2 separate regions of the Homo sapiens genome follow, and region 2 is linked to region 1. Evidence: promoter capture Hi-C in 16 types of primary human blood cells and fetal thymus (Javierre and others, 2016). All regions are on one chromosome and are shown on one strand. The core of a region is centred on a gene start or on the middle of the fragment in contact, and the rest is flanking DNA. Distances in the headings are between cores, read along the strand shown.

What was found. Contacts are between HindIII fragments. The CHiCAGO score rates a contact against its expected background, and 5 or more counts as called.
Region 2: a fragment that was not itself captured here is called in contact with the fragment with the promoter of ST3GAL5 in region 1 in 1 of 17 cell types (fetal thymus); the score reaches 5.9 in fetal thymus.

Annotation. Positions count from the first base shown.
Region 1 is chr2:85,886,404-85,892,535 of GRCh38, reverse strand. It overlaps ST3GAL5 (ST3 beta-galactoside alpha-2,3-sialyltransferase 5), which reads left to right and starts at 3,546. Exons shown (of 7, transcript NM_003896.4): 1 at 3,546-3,712. The coding sequence starts at 3,631. It overlaps ST3GAL5-AS1 (ST3GAL5 antisense RNA 1), which reads right to left and starts at 3,256. Exons shown (of 3, transcript NR_110569.1): 1 at 2,733-3,256; 2 at 1,331-1,360; 3 at 284-845. RefSeq lists silencers at 3,145-3,764, 3,805-3,924 and enhancers at 4,095-4,174, 3,866-4,366, 4,705-4,834, 4,845-4,964. The HindIII fragment of the contact is 797 bases long and covers 3,244-4,040 here.
Region 2 is chr2:86,196,922-86,203,053 of GRCh38, reverse strand. It overlaps MRPL35 (mitochondrial ribosomal protein L35), which reads right to left and starts at 3,597. Exons shown (of 4, transcript NM_016622.4): 1 at 3,521-3,597. The coding sequence starts at 3,563. RefSeq lists an enhancer at 3,509-3,778. The HindIII fragment of the contact is 272 bases long and covers 2,781-3,052 here.

The DNA.
Region 1 (6,132 bases), core at 2,297-4,796:
CTTCTTGTAGTCCAAGATGTCTGTCTTACCAACAGCTTCTGAGGCTACTTACTGCCTAGTTCTTGTCTAGCAGAACATGAAAGCATCTCTCCCCCAGCATCCAATAAATTCCTGAGACTTCCTCTGATTGGATCAGTGTGGTTCCTGTGGCTACCCATGAACCATTCCTAGTGGCAAGGAGGATGGGGCAATGGGGCTATCTGGGTGGCTGAGACCAGTAAGTCTCAAACTCTGGTCTCAGGATCAATTTACACACCTAGAAATTACTGAGGATCCCAAAGAATCTTTTTGACATGGTCTTTCTCTTGATATTTGCCAAATTAAAAATTAAAACTGAGAAATTTTTAAATATTTAATTTAATTTAAATATTTAAATTTTAAAATATTTATTAAGTCATTAAAATAATAAATCTGGCTGGGCATTGTGGTTCACACCTATAATCCCAGCACTTTGGGAGGCTGAGGAGGGTGGATCACCTGAGGTCCGGAGTTCTTGACCAGCCTGGCCAACATGGTGAAACCCCATCTGTACTAAAAATACAAATATTAGCTGGGCATGGTGGTACGTGCCTGTAATCCCAGCTACTTCTGGAGGCTAAGGCAGGAGAATCACCTGAACCTGGGAGGTGGAGGTTGCAGTGAGCCATGATTGTACCATTGCACTCCAGCCTGGGTGGCAGAGCAAGACTCTGTCTCAAGTAAAAAATAAATAAATAAAATAATAATAATAATAAATCCATTGCATGTTAATATATATTGATAAAAAATAACTTCTTTTTTTTAGACAGAGTTTCGCTCTGTCACCCAGGCTAGAGTGCACTAGCGTGATCTCGGCTCACTGCAACCTCTGCCTCCTGGGTTCAAGCAATTTTCCTGCCTCAGCCTCCTGAGTAGCTGGGATTACAGGCACATGCCACCATGCCCAGCTAATTTTTTGTACTTTTAGCAGAGACAGGGTTTCACCATGTTGTCCAGGCTGGTCTCAAACTCCTGACCTCAAGTAATCTGCCCACCTCGGCTTCCCAAAGTGCTGGGATCACAGGTGCGAGCCACCATGCCCAGCCAAAAAATAACTGGTTTTGGCTGCATGCAGTGGCTCACATCTGTGATCCCAGCACTTTGGGAGGCCCAGGCAGGAGGAACACTTGAGCCTAGGAGTTTGAGGCCAGCCTGGGCAACAGAGGGAGACTGCTGTCTCTACAAAAAATTAGAAATTAGCCTGGCATGGTGTTGGGTACCTGTAGTTCCAGCTACTTGGGAGGCTGAGGTAGGAGGATTGCTTGAGCCCAGGAGGTGGAGGTTGCAGTGAGCCAAGATCGTGCCACTGCACTCCAGCTTGGATGACAGAGTGAATCTGTCTCTAAAAAAGAAAAAAAAAAAAACGCTGCTGTCCTGGATTTGTAAGTAGCCTGAGTGACTCTTTGCTAGTCACTATTCAGAAGCTTCTCTGAGATCAGCCACTGACTTGGAGAGATAACAGTAAGGCTTTGAGATCTAGAGGCTGATCTTAGTCTGCTGTTTGGAGATCTCTGCCTTAATCCAGAATAATAGCTGAGGATGTCTCTGTGGCTGATGAAGAAAAGGAAGTTTGCAGGCCTGCTTGTCTTGCTGCCCAAGTGGGTCAACCTAATGTGAGTGGAGTGAATGAGGTAGTAAGGGCTTAACAGATGTCTTGTGATTCTGGGACAGGAGGCAGCTTCAAGTTCCTTTTCTTCCTCACCCCCACCTTACACCCATCCTTGGAAGCTGGGATACTGCTGACTCTCATGGCAGCCATAACGCTATCAGCGCCTGGCTTTGCCGACAAGGGGAATCTGGAAGAGAAGGGGAAGGACAGGGGAGACAAAGAGAGGTAAAGAGTGTTGCATCAAGCACATGTGTCAGAAGTGTTCAAACCAGAGCGCCTCCATTTTGAGTGAGGGCTAGAAAAATGAGGCTGGGACTTGCTAGGCTGCATTTCCTGAAAGCTAGGCATTCCTAGCCTCTAGGTGTTTATGGTTAAGAGAACAAATTAATAATGCTTACTAAACAGACCCAGACTTGAGAGAGTCCAGATATCCCGATATCTGGAGAACAAAGGCATTCCTAATTTTGCTTTAAAAATAATAATATTGATTATTGCAAAATATAGTAATTAGGGAAAATTAATCCTTTATCACAAACCCTTGTAGCAGAAGACATCTGCCCATATATACAAGCATTACAAGCATTGTACCTTAGTTGGATATGTCCCTCCTCTTATTTTCAGGAATGCCCTGCTGGAGTGCAGTGGCGATCTCGGCTCACTGTAGCCTCTGCCTCCCGGGTTCAAGCGATTCTCCTGCCTCAGCCCCGTGAGTAGCTGAGACAACAGGCTTGCGCCACCACGCCCGGCCAATATTTGTATTTCTAGTAGAGACGGGGTTTTGCCATGTTGGCCAGCTGGTCTTGAACTCCTGACATCAGGTGATCTGTCCGTCTCAGCCTCCCAAAGTGCTGGGATTACGCGTGAGCCACTGTGCCCAGCCACCACTTTACTTTCTTAATAAACTTGCTTTTACTTTGCACTGTGGACTTACTCTGAATTGTTTCTTGCGTGAGATCGAAGAACCCTCTCTTGGGGTCTAGATCGGGACCCCTTTCCTGTAACACATGGGCCTTGGGCTGATCTCCAAGATTAAGAGGGCAAGATACTCAGCTGCAAGGGTCAGCTGTCGCTGACCCCAGCAGCTGCTCTGCCTTGGCCAACTTACCGGATTTAAATCGCCCAGTGACAGCTTTTCCTCCAGTATTTTCAAAATGCTCCCAATATCCTCACGTTAGAACAATCCAGAAATAGTCTTATGGTAAAACTCTTTTGGGAAATGTGAAAGTAGAGTCCTCCCACCTTTTCCTTTGCAACGCTTTTGCCCCAACCTCGATCGCCCAGGCAGCACATTTTTTCCGGCACCCCCACCAAGGGAAGAACAGAGACATCTCCAAACCAGCTGCCCTGCGCCAAGCTGTTACAAAATAGAGCCACAAGTCTCCCGGTTTATGCAAACATATTTGGCTCGGTGTCTAGGATCTTCTTTTTCAAACTCAGAAGGAGATCACAGGCACACGGCCGCGGTGCTGTGTACGCCCCTCTGAAAGGAAGTTCTGCAAGTCGACCGACTTCACTGGCTTCACTGAAGTCCGGTCCGAAACCACCGGAAAGTTGCAGGCGCACAGTATACGTTCAGCTGTGTCCAAGAAATAACCTATCAATCACTGCCTTAAGCTTTGTTTCCTTCCTGAATTTTCTTATTTTCACGAATATTTATGCTTTCACAAACTGTATGTCATTTCCTCTCCAGAACCAAGGGGGGCTCGCCCCAGCCTGGCCCCCGCCCCGGGTGCGTCCCTGCAGGGGGCGCCCTGCTCTGGCAATGCCCACCGCACCGCAGGGCTGACTGGCCGCGCGCCCGGGGGCGGGGGCCGCCGCGGAGGCATCGTGCTCTCCGATTGGCCGTCCGCGTCCTCGTGACGTCAGACCCCGCCCACGCGCCCCTCCTCCGCATCTGAGCGGGGGAGCGGCGGCCCCCAGCTGAATGGGCGCGAGAGCGGCGCTGGGGGCGGGTGGGGGCGCGGGGTACCGGGCTGGCGGCCGGCCGGCGCCCCCTCATTAGTATGCGGACGAAGGCGGCGGGCTGCGCGGAGCGGCGTCCCCTGCAGCCGCGGACCGAGGCAGCGGCGGCACCTGCCGGCCGAGGTACGTGGCGCAGCCCCCTCCTCGGCGTCGCGGGGGCCCGCGGGCTGGGGGCTGCGGCGGCGACTTGTCTCTTCCCGGGCCGGCTGGGCGCGGCGTTTCCGCCTCGAACCCCGCGGGCAGCGCCCAGGGCACGACACCCTCAGGCGAGCCCGGCTGGGGCGCGGGCGGAGGGTCGTGGTCCCGGGCCGTGTGGACCGGGCGGGGGGTCCCACGCAGGTGTGTACGCGGTAGAGGGTGGGGCGGACCGCCGGGTGTCGGGTCCCGCCGCAGTGGCCCTTTCCCCGCCGCTTTCCGCTGCAGCTCGGGATTTAATTCATTGCTGGAAGCTTCGGAGTTAGCAGAGCCGAGTTAACTCGTTTTCCTGGGATGGGCTTAGGGAACCCCCTGCAAGGTTACTAGCAGCTCCTGAAACCTCTCTCTGCATCCATCGGGGAGGCGTGATGTGGGGCCGCTGGTAGAAATTTGCCGGTGACCTTCCCTGCACCCTCTCTGCAGCCAGCCTTGCGGAGAAGACAGGTTTTGGCGACCTTTTGATTTCTTCTGAATTGTAAGCCGTGGCTTGACGCGGGTGTGCATTCATTGTACGCCTTGCGTGTGTAAGTAACGCAGGGTTTTCCGAGAGCATCCCCGAGGAGCCCTGCCCTTGCCTCACACCCGCTTGGTGACCTTGGCAGACACTGATCCCCCTGTGGGGCTCGGGCTCATGGTCTCTCCTGAGAAGCTTACCCTGCCGATGGCCGAGGTCCCTTCCAGGCCCCGGGTTTTTCTAATCATAAAAAAATACGTTTACGAGGGTAGAGGATCCTGCAGAATCTCTAGCTGACTCGGAAGACGAATTTTATATCCTCATGTCTTAAGTCATGCATGCGGCTTTTGCTTAATTAGGCATCGTTCATTTGAAGGGGAAAATGGTTTTATGTGCTGCGCTTCATCTGGCACCAGTGGTTGCCTGCTCCTCGTGGCAGGGCCGTGCTGGGTGTCACAGAGAGGAAGGAGACTCATCTCCTGCCCTCTGGTGTTTAGCTGCCCTCCCCCGGGCTTATGGCTGCTAATCCTTTTCCACGGAAGGATACAGCTGCTGAAACTGTGGAAGAGGAATCCATTTCTGCTGCATGAAGGGGCACAGACTTGAATACAGTCAGGACAGGTTGTGGTTTCACTTGTGTAATCCTGAGAGCTTGACAGCTTCGAGGAGTGTCTAACATTGCTAGTAACAGAGCCTAGAAGCACCTGAATTCCAGCTGTCACTTGGAGAAGGAGAGATTCATACGAACTGCGAGAGCATATAACCAGCATGTCTTGAGTCTTTTACCCATGTGCCTGTTATATGGATGCTGCTGTTTTTGTAAGATGAAATGACCCTTGGATATTCTGGGTTATGATCAGCATTTCTTCGTCTAGGCGAGAAAAGAAACAGGTGAGATAGGAAGGCATGAAGGGGCTCATGGAAGAGAGAGGGCTGACAGGCAGAAATTTTGAGAGCTCACATTTACGACTATTTGGACAGTTCTTATAATTTTGGCATAAATTGTAAATTGTTGCATGTTATCAAAATAGATTGGTGATGAACGTTAAGGATATATCCGTGGCAGAATAAGAACACACTCTTTGTTCTTTGGTTTGCTCCTCTAGTTCTTCCCTGCTTGCCTTGTGGGACTATTTGCAGCAATGAGGGGAATTTATCTAGCAGGTTGGCCTCGGGAGGCAATGAATGAAAAGAGGTTGGTGAGTCCTCTGTGGGAGTCCATTCCAGGTCCTGGAGGGCTGAGGTGGGTGTCTTGGAGCCAGCAGTTTCTGGGAGAAGGGATAAAGCTCACCTTCCACACCCTCCTGGCTCCTGAGGAGCGATTTAATCCGCACTGCCTGTGGACACGATGGAGGACTGAGATCACTCCCGAAGGGCATGCTCCGTGGTTTTAGTCTGCTGGGAAGCTCTGGCAGAAGTAAAACAACTGGGAATATACACATGTTAATGATGCTCCAAGCTGCCTAACTGCTGAGGAAGGAAAAGCAAGGGCTGGATCAGTGTGGGTGGCATAAGTTAGCAAAGGCATCCAAAGTGGGGTGAATCACAGGCCTGGTGTGGGAGGAAACCATAAATATGACGGTGACACGCAGGCTCGCCCGGGAGACAGCCAGCTTAAGCACACGTGCAGAGGAGAAGCAAGTGAAATGCGTAAGGGAGCAGGAGAAAAATCAGCTTTGAGGCTTCAAGGACACTACCAGGCTTGTCTTACCTGGACACCAGACAGACAAAACTTTTTTTTCCTCTTTTTTTTTTAAGTATAGCATAGATACTAGGAAAGTAGACATACCATAAGTGTCCTGCTCAATGAATTTTCCAGACTGAACATGCCCATGCACTCAGCACTTAGATCAACAAACAGAACTGGCCGGGACCCTGGGAGCTCCCCTTGTGT
Region 2 (6,132 bases), core at 1,667-4,166, 310 kb before region 1:
GTACTCAAAAAGTTTCAGATTAAAGATACCTAACCTGTATATTAATATGTGGCCATCAGTGATAACAGGGCCAGGTGTGGTAGCTCACCCCTGTAACCCCAACACTTTGGGAGGCCCCGGCGGATCACCTGAGGTCAGGAGTTTGCGACCAGCTTGGCCAACATGTGAAACCCCGTCTCTACTAAAAATAGAAATATTAGCTGGGCAGAGTGACGCGCGCCTGTAGTCCCAGCTACTCGGAGGCTGAGGTAGGAGAACTGCTTGAACTCAGGAGGCAGAGGTTGCAGTGAGCCGAGATCTTGCCACTGCACTCCAGGAGACAGAAGGAGACTCTGTCTCCACAAAAGAAAAAGAGATAACAATTTGCAACTGAAAAGGGTAGCATAAACATTGGTGCAGAAAACTGATGAGAGAGCCCTTACATAGGGCCTTGGAAATCAAATAAGTTAAATCGCAAAGAACTGAAAAGATGTGCAGATGTAATAAGGCAGGAGGTAATCTTTGGAAGATTAAGTGCATTGGAGGACTGTAGACAAGAAAATGTTCCAATTTTCACACGTCATCAGATTTTGGTATCTCTTGGTTAAAAAATTAAAACCTATGAAATTCTTTTGTTCTCAATTTTTATGAAGATCCTGAGGCTGCATAAGACATATTTATCAATTTTCCCAAAAAGCAAGCTGGGAACAATGGCTTGTTAATGTATTTGTGAAGACACAGAGTATCAGAACTCCAAGTGATCTTAGTAAGAGAGAAAAACAGATCAAAACCAACAAGATGAAATCAGGAATAAATACACTGAAGTTAGAAAAAATGGTTACGGGAACAACAGGAACTGGGATCTTGGTTGAGAGCAGTTCATGGGAAAATATGTGGGGAGGCTCTATCTACTGCGCCTTCTGGTGGATCAATCATGTGATTAAGCCTGTGAGGGAAACCTAACAGTCTAGCTTTGTTAACAAAAGTGCAGTACATCAAGGAAAGTAACTAATTTCCTTCAGTCCTCTGCCCCGTCTGGGCATTTTCATACAGACTAGTCTACTCTAAACACACTGTTGTATAGAGAATACAGATGTTTTCACAAAAGAGGTAACGCAAAACCAGAGTTTTGACAGAGTACGAAGAGACAGAGGGAATAGGACGTACAAAGGTGACGATGTACATTTGGGGAATTACAATGGCCCTATGTGGCATGAATCAAAGGAATGAATGGGGGACATGAACTGCACTGGATGGGAGTGGAGGAGACTGTGACAGTATCGAAACCAGGAGTCTTCAAGATTTCTGATCCTATGTTTCCTAAAAGAATTTTGAAAAACTACCCTTTCACAAATTCTTAATATCTAAAATATCAAATAGTTTAAATTGTTAAAAAGGCTATAATTTCCAGCATATTTAAAATACTGACATTTTAAAATAAGCTGTCACATCACTCTTTAAATTGTTTTCAGTAGAATCTAAATTAATAGTAAGTTGATAACTACCTACATCATCTATTTAAAAATTACAAGAACTATAAATTCAAGTAGATGAAAAACAACTTTTCGTCAAAGGGCACTCCAAAATAATGTAAAAAAGACAAGCCTGAGTGGGAGAAGCTAAAGGACACACACAAATGAAAAACAAAAACAAAACAAAAAATACTCTAAATAAATAAGACAAACAATCCAATAGGAAAATGGGCAAAATATTTAAGTGGATATTTCATAAAGGAAATTCAAAAGGCCAATAAAAATGTGAAACACACTATAGCTTGTTATTAATCAGAGAAATGCTTATTTAAATCTCAATGAGATACCATTACAAAGCCACCAGATTAACAAAAATTTGTAGGTCTGACAATATCTATTGACAATATCAATATCAGGTGTTGGTGAGGATGTGGGGCCTCAACAGTTTGGCAATATCAGGCAATGCTGAATATATACATATTCTCTGACCAGGCAATTCCACAGCGATTTTCACACATACCCACATCCTCAGAAACAATTGGACTCATGCGCCAGGATGAGATCAATCAGCTTTGTACATAATTGCCCCAAACTGGAAATGGAGAATTGTGGCACAGTCATATAATATTATACAGCAGGCCGGGCAGGGTGGCTCACACCCGTAATCCCAGCACTTTGGGAGGTCGAGGCGGGCGGATCACCTGAGGTCAGGAGTTCCAGACTAGCCTGACCAACATGGAGAAACCCCAACTCTACTAAAAATACAAAATTAGCTGGGCGTGGTGGCGCATGCCTGTAATCCCAGCTACTCCAAGGGAATCACTTAAACCTGGGAGGAGGAGGTTGCAGTGAGCCCAGATCGTGCCATTGCACTCCAGCCTGGGCAACAAGAGAGAAACTCCGTCTCAAAAAAAAAAAAAGAATTATATAGCAATGAGAAAGCATTACAGCTACGCAAAATGAATGAATGAATCTCACAATGTAAAAGAAGATACTAAAGCGTATATACTGTATGAACCAATTCATGTGAAGTTCAAAACCAGGCAAAACTATGTTCTTGAGATGCACATATGGATGCTAAAACTACTATAGGAAAAATAGGCAACCTAATAGTAACTATAAAAATGAGAACAGTGTTTATATCTGGGGGGGAAGTAGAGAATTTTGATACATAGGGGAGAGGAGGCTTCTGGTAGTGCACTGTTTTGACCTGAGTGTTAAACAGGTGTTTGCTTTAGAACTGTTAAATCATTCATGCATACTATATAAAATTTTCTTCATATGTATTATATTTCGCGAACACAAAAAATACTCCACATAAAAAAAGCTTTTCTCTAACGGTAAAATTTACATCGCTGCATTTTCTTGACTGATCTCGTATATTCTCCCACAAAATGTTATCCTAACAATATATTTTGTGTGAAAGTAACTTACTGAGCATCCTATGGTATTTGGATGATTTTTAACTTTTTGCAAAAAGTACTTAACGTCACGGCAACTTAATTTAGTCGCCTTTACTTCTGCTATCTCTCAGTCAAGAAGTCCTCATACCAGCCCTTGTGCCGGGGGCTGTAGTTAAAAATTAAATTAGCCTTCAAGCTTACCATGTGTCAGGCACTGCCCAAAACGCTTTACGTGCATTATCTCATTTAATCCCCAGGTAGGTGGTTATGACCCCCATTTTAGAGGTGTAGAATCTTAAGTTAGGAGACATTAATTCTCAAGGTTAAAGGTCGTGAATGGCAGGTCGTAGCCTCTAAATCAGAAAGTTAGGTGAGACTTTTTGGTTTCCCTCGCCCCCTCCGTTCCAGTTTCTCTGGCTTCTTTTCTAGGGAAAAAAAGCTGGTAAGGAAGCGGCAAATGCGTGACACACAGGCCCGCGTGAGTCCGAGTCGGGGGACTTGGTACGGGCTGCCGGTCACACCGCCCCAGAGAAAATTGGGCGCAACCTTCTTAACTTAAATAATGACCCTTTTTGCTTGTTAACCTCCAGTCTAAACGCCCATTCCATCCCGCACCAGTTTCCCCTTCTGTGAAGGCATGCATGGAGTATGTCGCTCTCCACTGACCTGAAGCTGCTCTCACTGCACCAGCAAAGGCAGAGGCAGCCATCTTCACCTTCGCCTACGGCGGCCGCTTTGGGTTTAAAAGCACAAGAGCAAAAGAGAATGAAGGGAAAGCAAGGAGGCGGAGTCAAGGAAGAGGAAAAGAACAAAGTTGTCCACTCAACATTTATTCAATGTCATCTGCCGGGTTCCGTTCTTCGCCGCTGTAAAACGACTGCCTATAGAAGGTTCTACAAAATTTCTTATTAAAAAAAATTCTTGGGGCCGGGCACGGTGGCTCACGCCTGTAATCCCAGCACTTTGGGAGGCCGCGGCGGGCGGATCACAAGGTCAGGAGTTCGAGACCAGCCTGGCCAACATGATGAAACCCCCGTCTGTACTAAAAATACAAAAAGTAGCCGGGCTTGGGAGGCTGAGGCAGGAGAATCGCTTGAAACCGGAAGGCGGAGGTTGCAGTGAGCAGAGATCGTGCCACTGAACTCCAGTCTGGGCGAAAGAGCGAAACTCCATCTCAAAAAAAAAAAAAAAATTCTTGCCGGGCGCGGTGGCTCACGCCTGTAATCCCAGCACTTTGGGCGGCCGAGGCGGGCAGATCACGAGGTCAGGAGATTGAGACCATCCTGGCTAACAGGGTGAAACCCCGTCTCTACTAAGGGGTACAAAAAATTAGCCGGGCGTGGTGGCGCGCGCCTGTAGTTCCAGCTATTCGGGAGGCTGAGGCAGGAGAATCGCTTGAACTTGGGAGGCGGTTGTTGCAGCAAGCCAAGATTGAGCCACCGCACTCCAGCCTGGGGTACAGAGCAAGATATAGGGTGTATTACCTTGGAACACTATTGTTGCCAACTTGATCTCCCACCTATGGTGGCCACTTTGAGTCCAAAAACAGGCACATACGCTAGACAAGTATATTGAAACATTCATAAAAGCTCTTTGAATTGGCAACGGGAGTCATTGCGCACTTTTTTTTTTTTTTGAGACTAGGTCTTGGTCTGTTGCGAAGGCTTGAGTGCAGTGGTGCGATCACAGCTCACTGCAGCCTCGACCTCCTAGGCTCAAGCAATCCTCCCACCTAAGCCTCCTGAGTAGCTGAGACTACAGGCACACACCTGGCTAATTTTTAAATTTTTTGTAGAGACCTAGGTCTCACTATGTTGCCCAGGGTGGTCTCAATTATTTGGTATGGAATCAAACAGGTCTCCCACCTTGGCCTCCCAAAGTGCTGGGATTACAGGTGTGAGCCACTGAGCCTGGCCTCACTGCACATTTTTGAACAAGTGAGTGACTTGATTTAAATTTTGTTTTTTAGAGACAGGGTCTGAGTGCAGTGGTGCAATCACTGCAGCCTGGAATTCCTGAGCTCAAGGGATCCTCCCACCACAGCCTTCCAAGTAGCTGGCACCACAGGCATGCACAATCATCCCCTGCTAATTTAAAAAAATTGTTTATAGAGATGAGGTTTCACTTTTTTTTTTTTTTTTTTTTTTTTTTTTTTTTTTGGAGACAGACTCTCGCTCTGTTGCCCAGGCTGGAGTGCAGTGGTGCGATCTTGGCTCTCTGCAAGCTCCGCCTCCCGGGTTCACACCATTCTCCGCCTCAGCCTCCCAAGTAGCTGGGACTACAGGTGCCTGCCACCACACCCAGCTAATTTTTTGTATTATTATTATTTTTTTTAGTAGAGACGGGGTTTCACCGTGTTAGCCAGGATGGTCTCGATCTCCCGACCTCATGATCCGCCCGCCTCGGCCTCCCAAAGTGCTGGGAGAGGTCTCACTCTTTTGCTCAGGCAGGTCTCAAACTCCTGGGCTCAAGTGATCCTCCCACCTCAGTCTGCCAAAATGCCGGGATATGAGCCACCACACCCAGCCCCTGGTAACAAATTTTTTTTTTTTGAGACGGAGTTTCGCTTTGTCCCCCAGGCTGGAGTGCAGTGGTGTGATCTTGGCTCACTGCAACCTCTGCTTCCCAGGTTCAAGTGATTCTCCTTCTTCAGCTTCCCACATAGCTGGGATTACAGGCGCGCACCACCAAGCCTAGCTAATTTTTGTATTTTTAGTAGAGACGGGGTTTCACCATGTTGGCCAGGCTGGTCTCGAATTCCTGACCTCAGGTGATCCGCCCGCGTCAGCCTCCCAAAGTGCTGGGATTACAGGTGTGAGCCACAGCGCCTGGCCTGCCTGATAACATTTTAAAGCAAAAATATTGACAACTTCCAAGTGGAGAGTGAGGACTCTCCACGTAGGTTATGAGGGGTTGGGAGGCTAATTTTGAGGTTTGAGATCTTGAAGCTAGAGAGGTTGCTAATGATGTTCAGGCGCAAGTTGTGGCTGTGACGTACATGACTGAAGCAGGATGAAAACATTCACTGGCATTGACAAATTCAAAGCCAAGGGTGTTAGAAAAGTCATCACACGGGCACCACATGACTGAAGCAGGATGAAAGCGTTCACTGGCATTAAGAAGTTCAAAGACAAGGGTGTTAGAAAAGTCATCACACCGGCACCACTGGGCATGACAGCAGTGGGCAGGGAGGCAGCAATTCAATTGCTAAAATTACTAAAGAAAACGGGAGACTGCTCTGGAAGCTAAGTGAAAGAGATATGAAACATATGTAATTA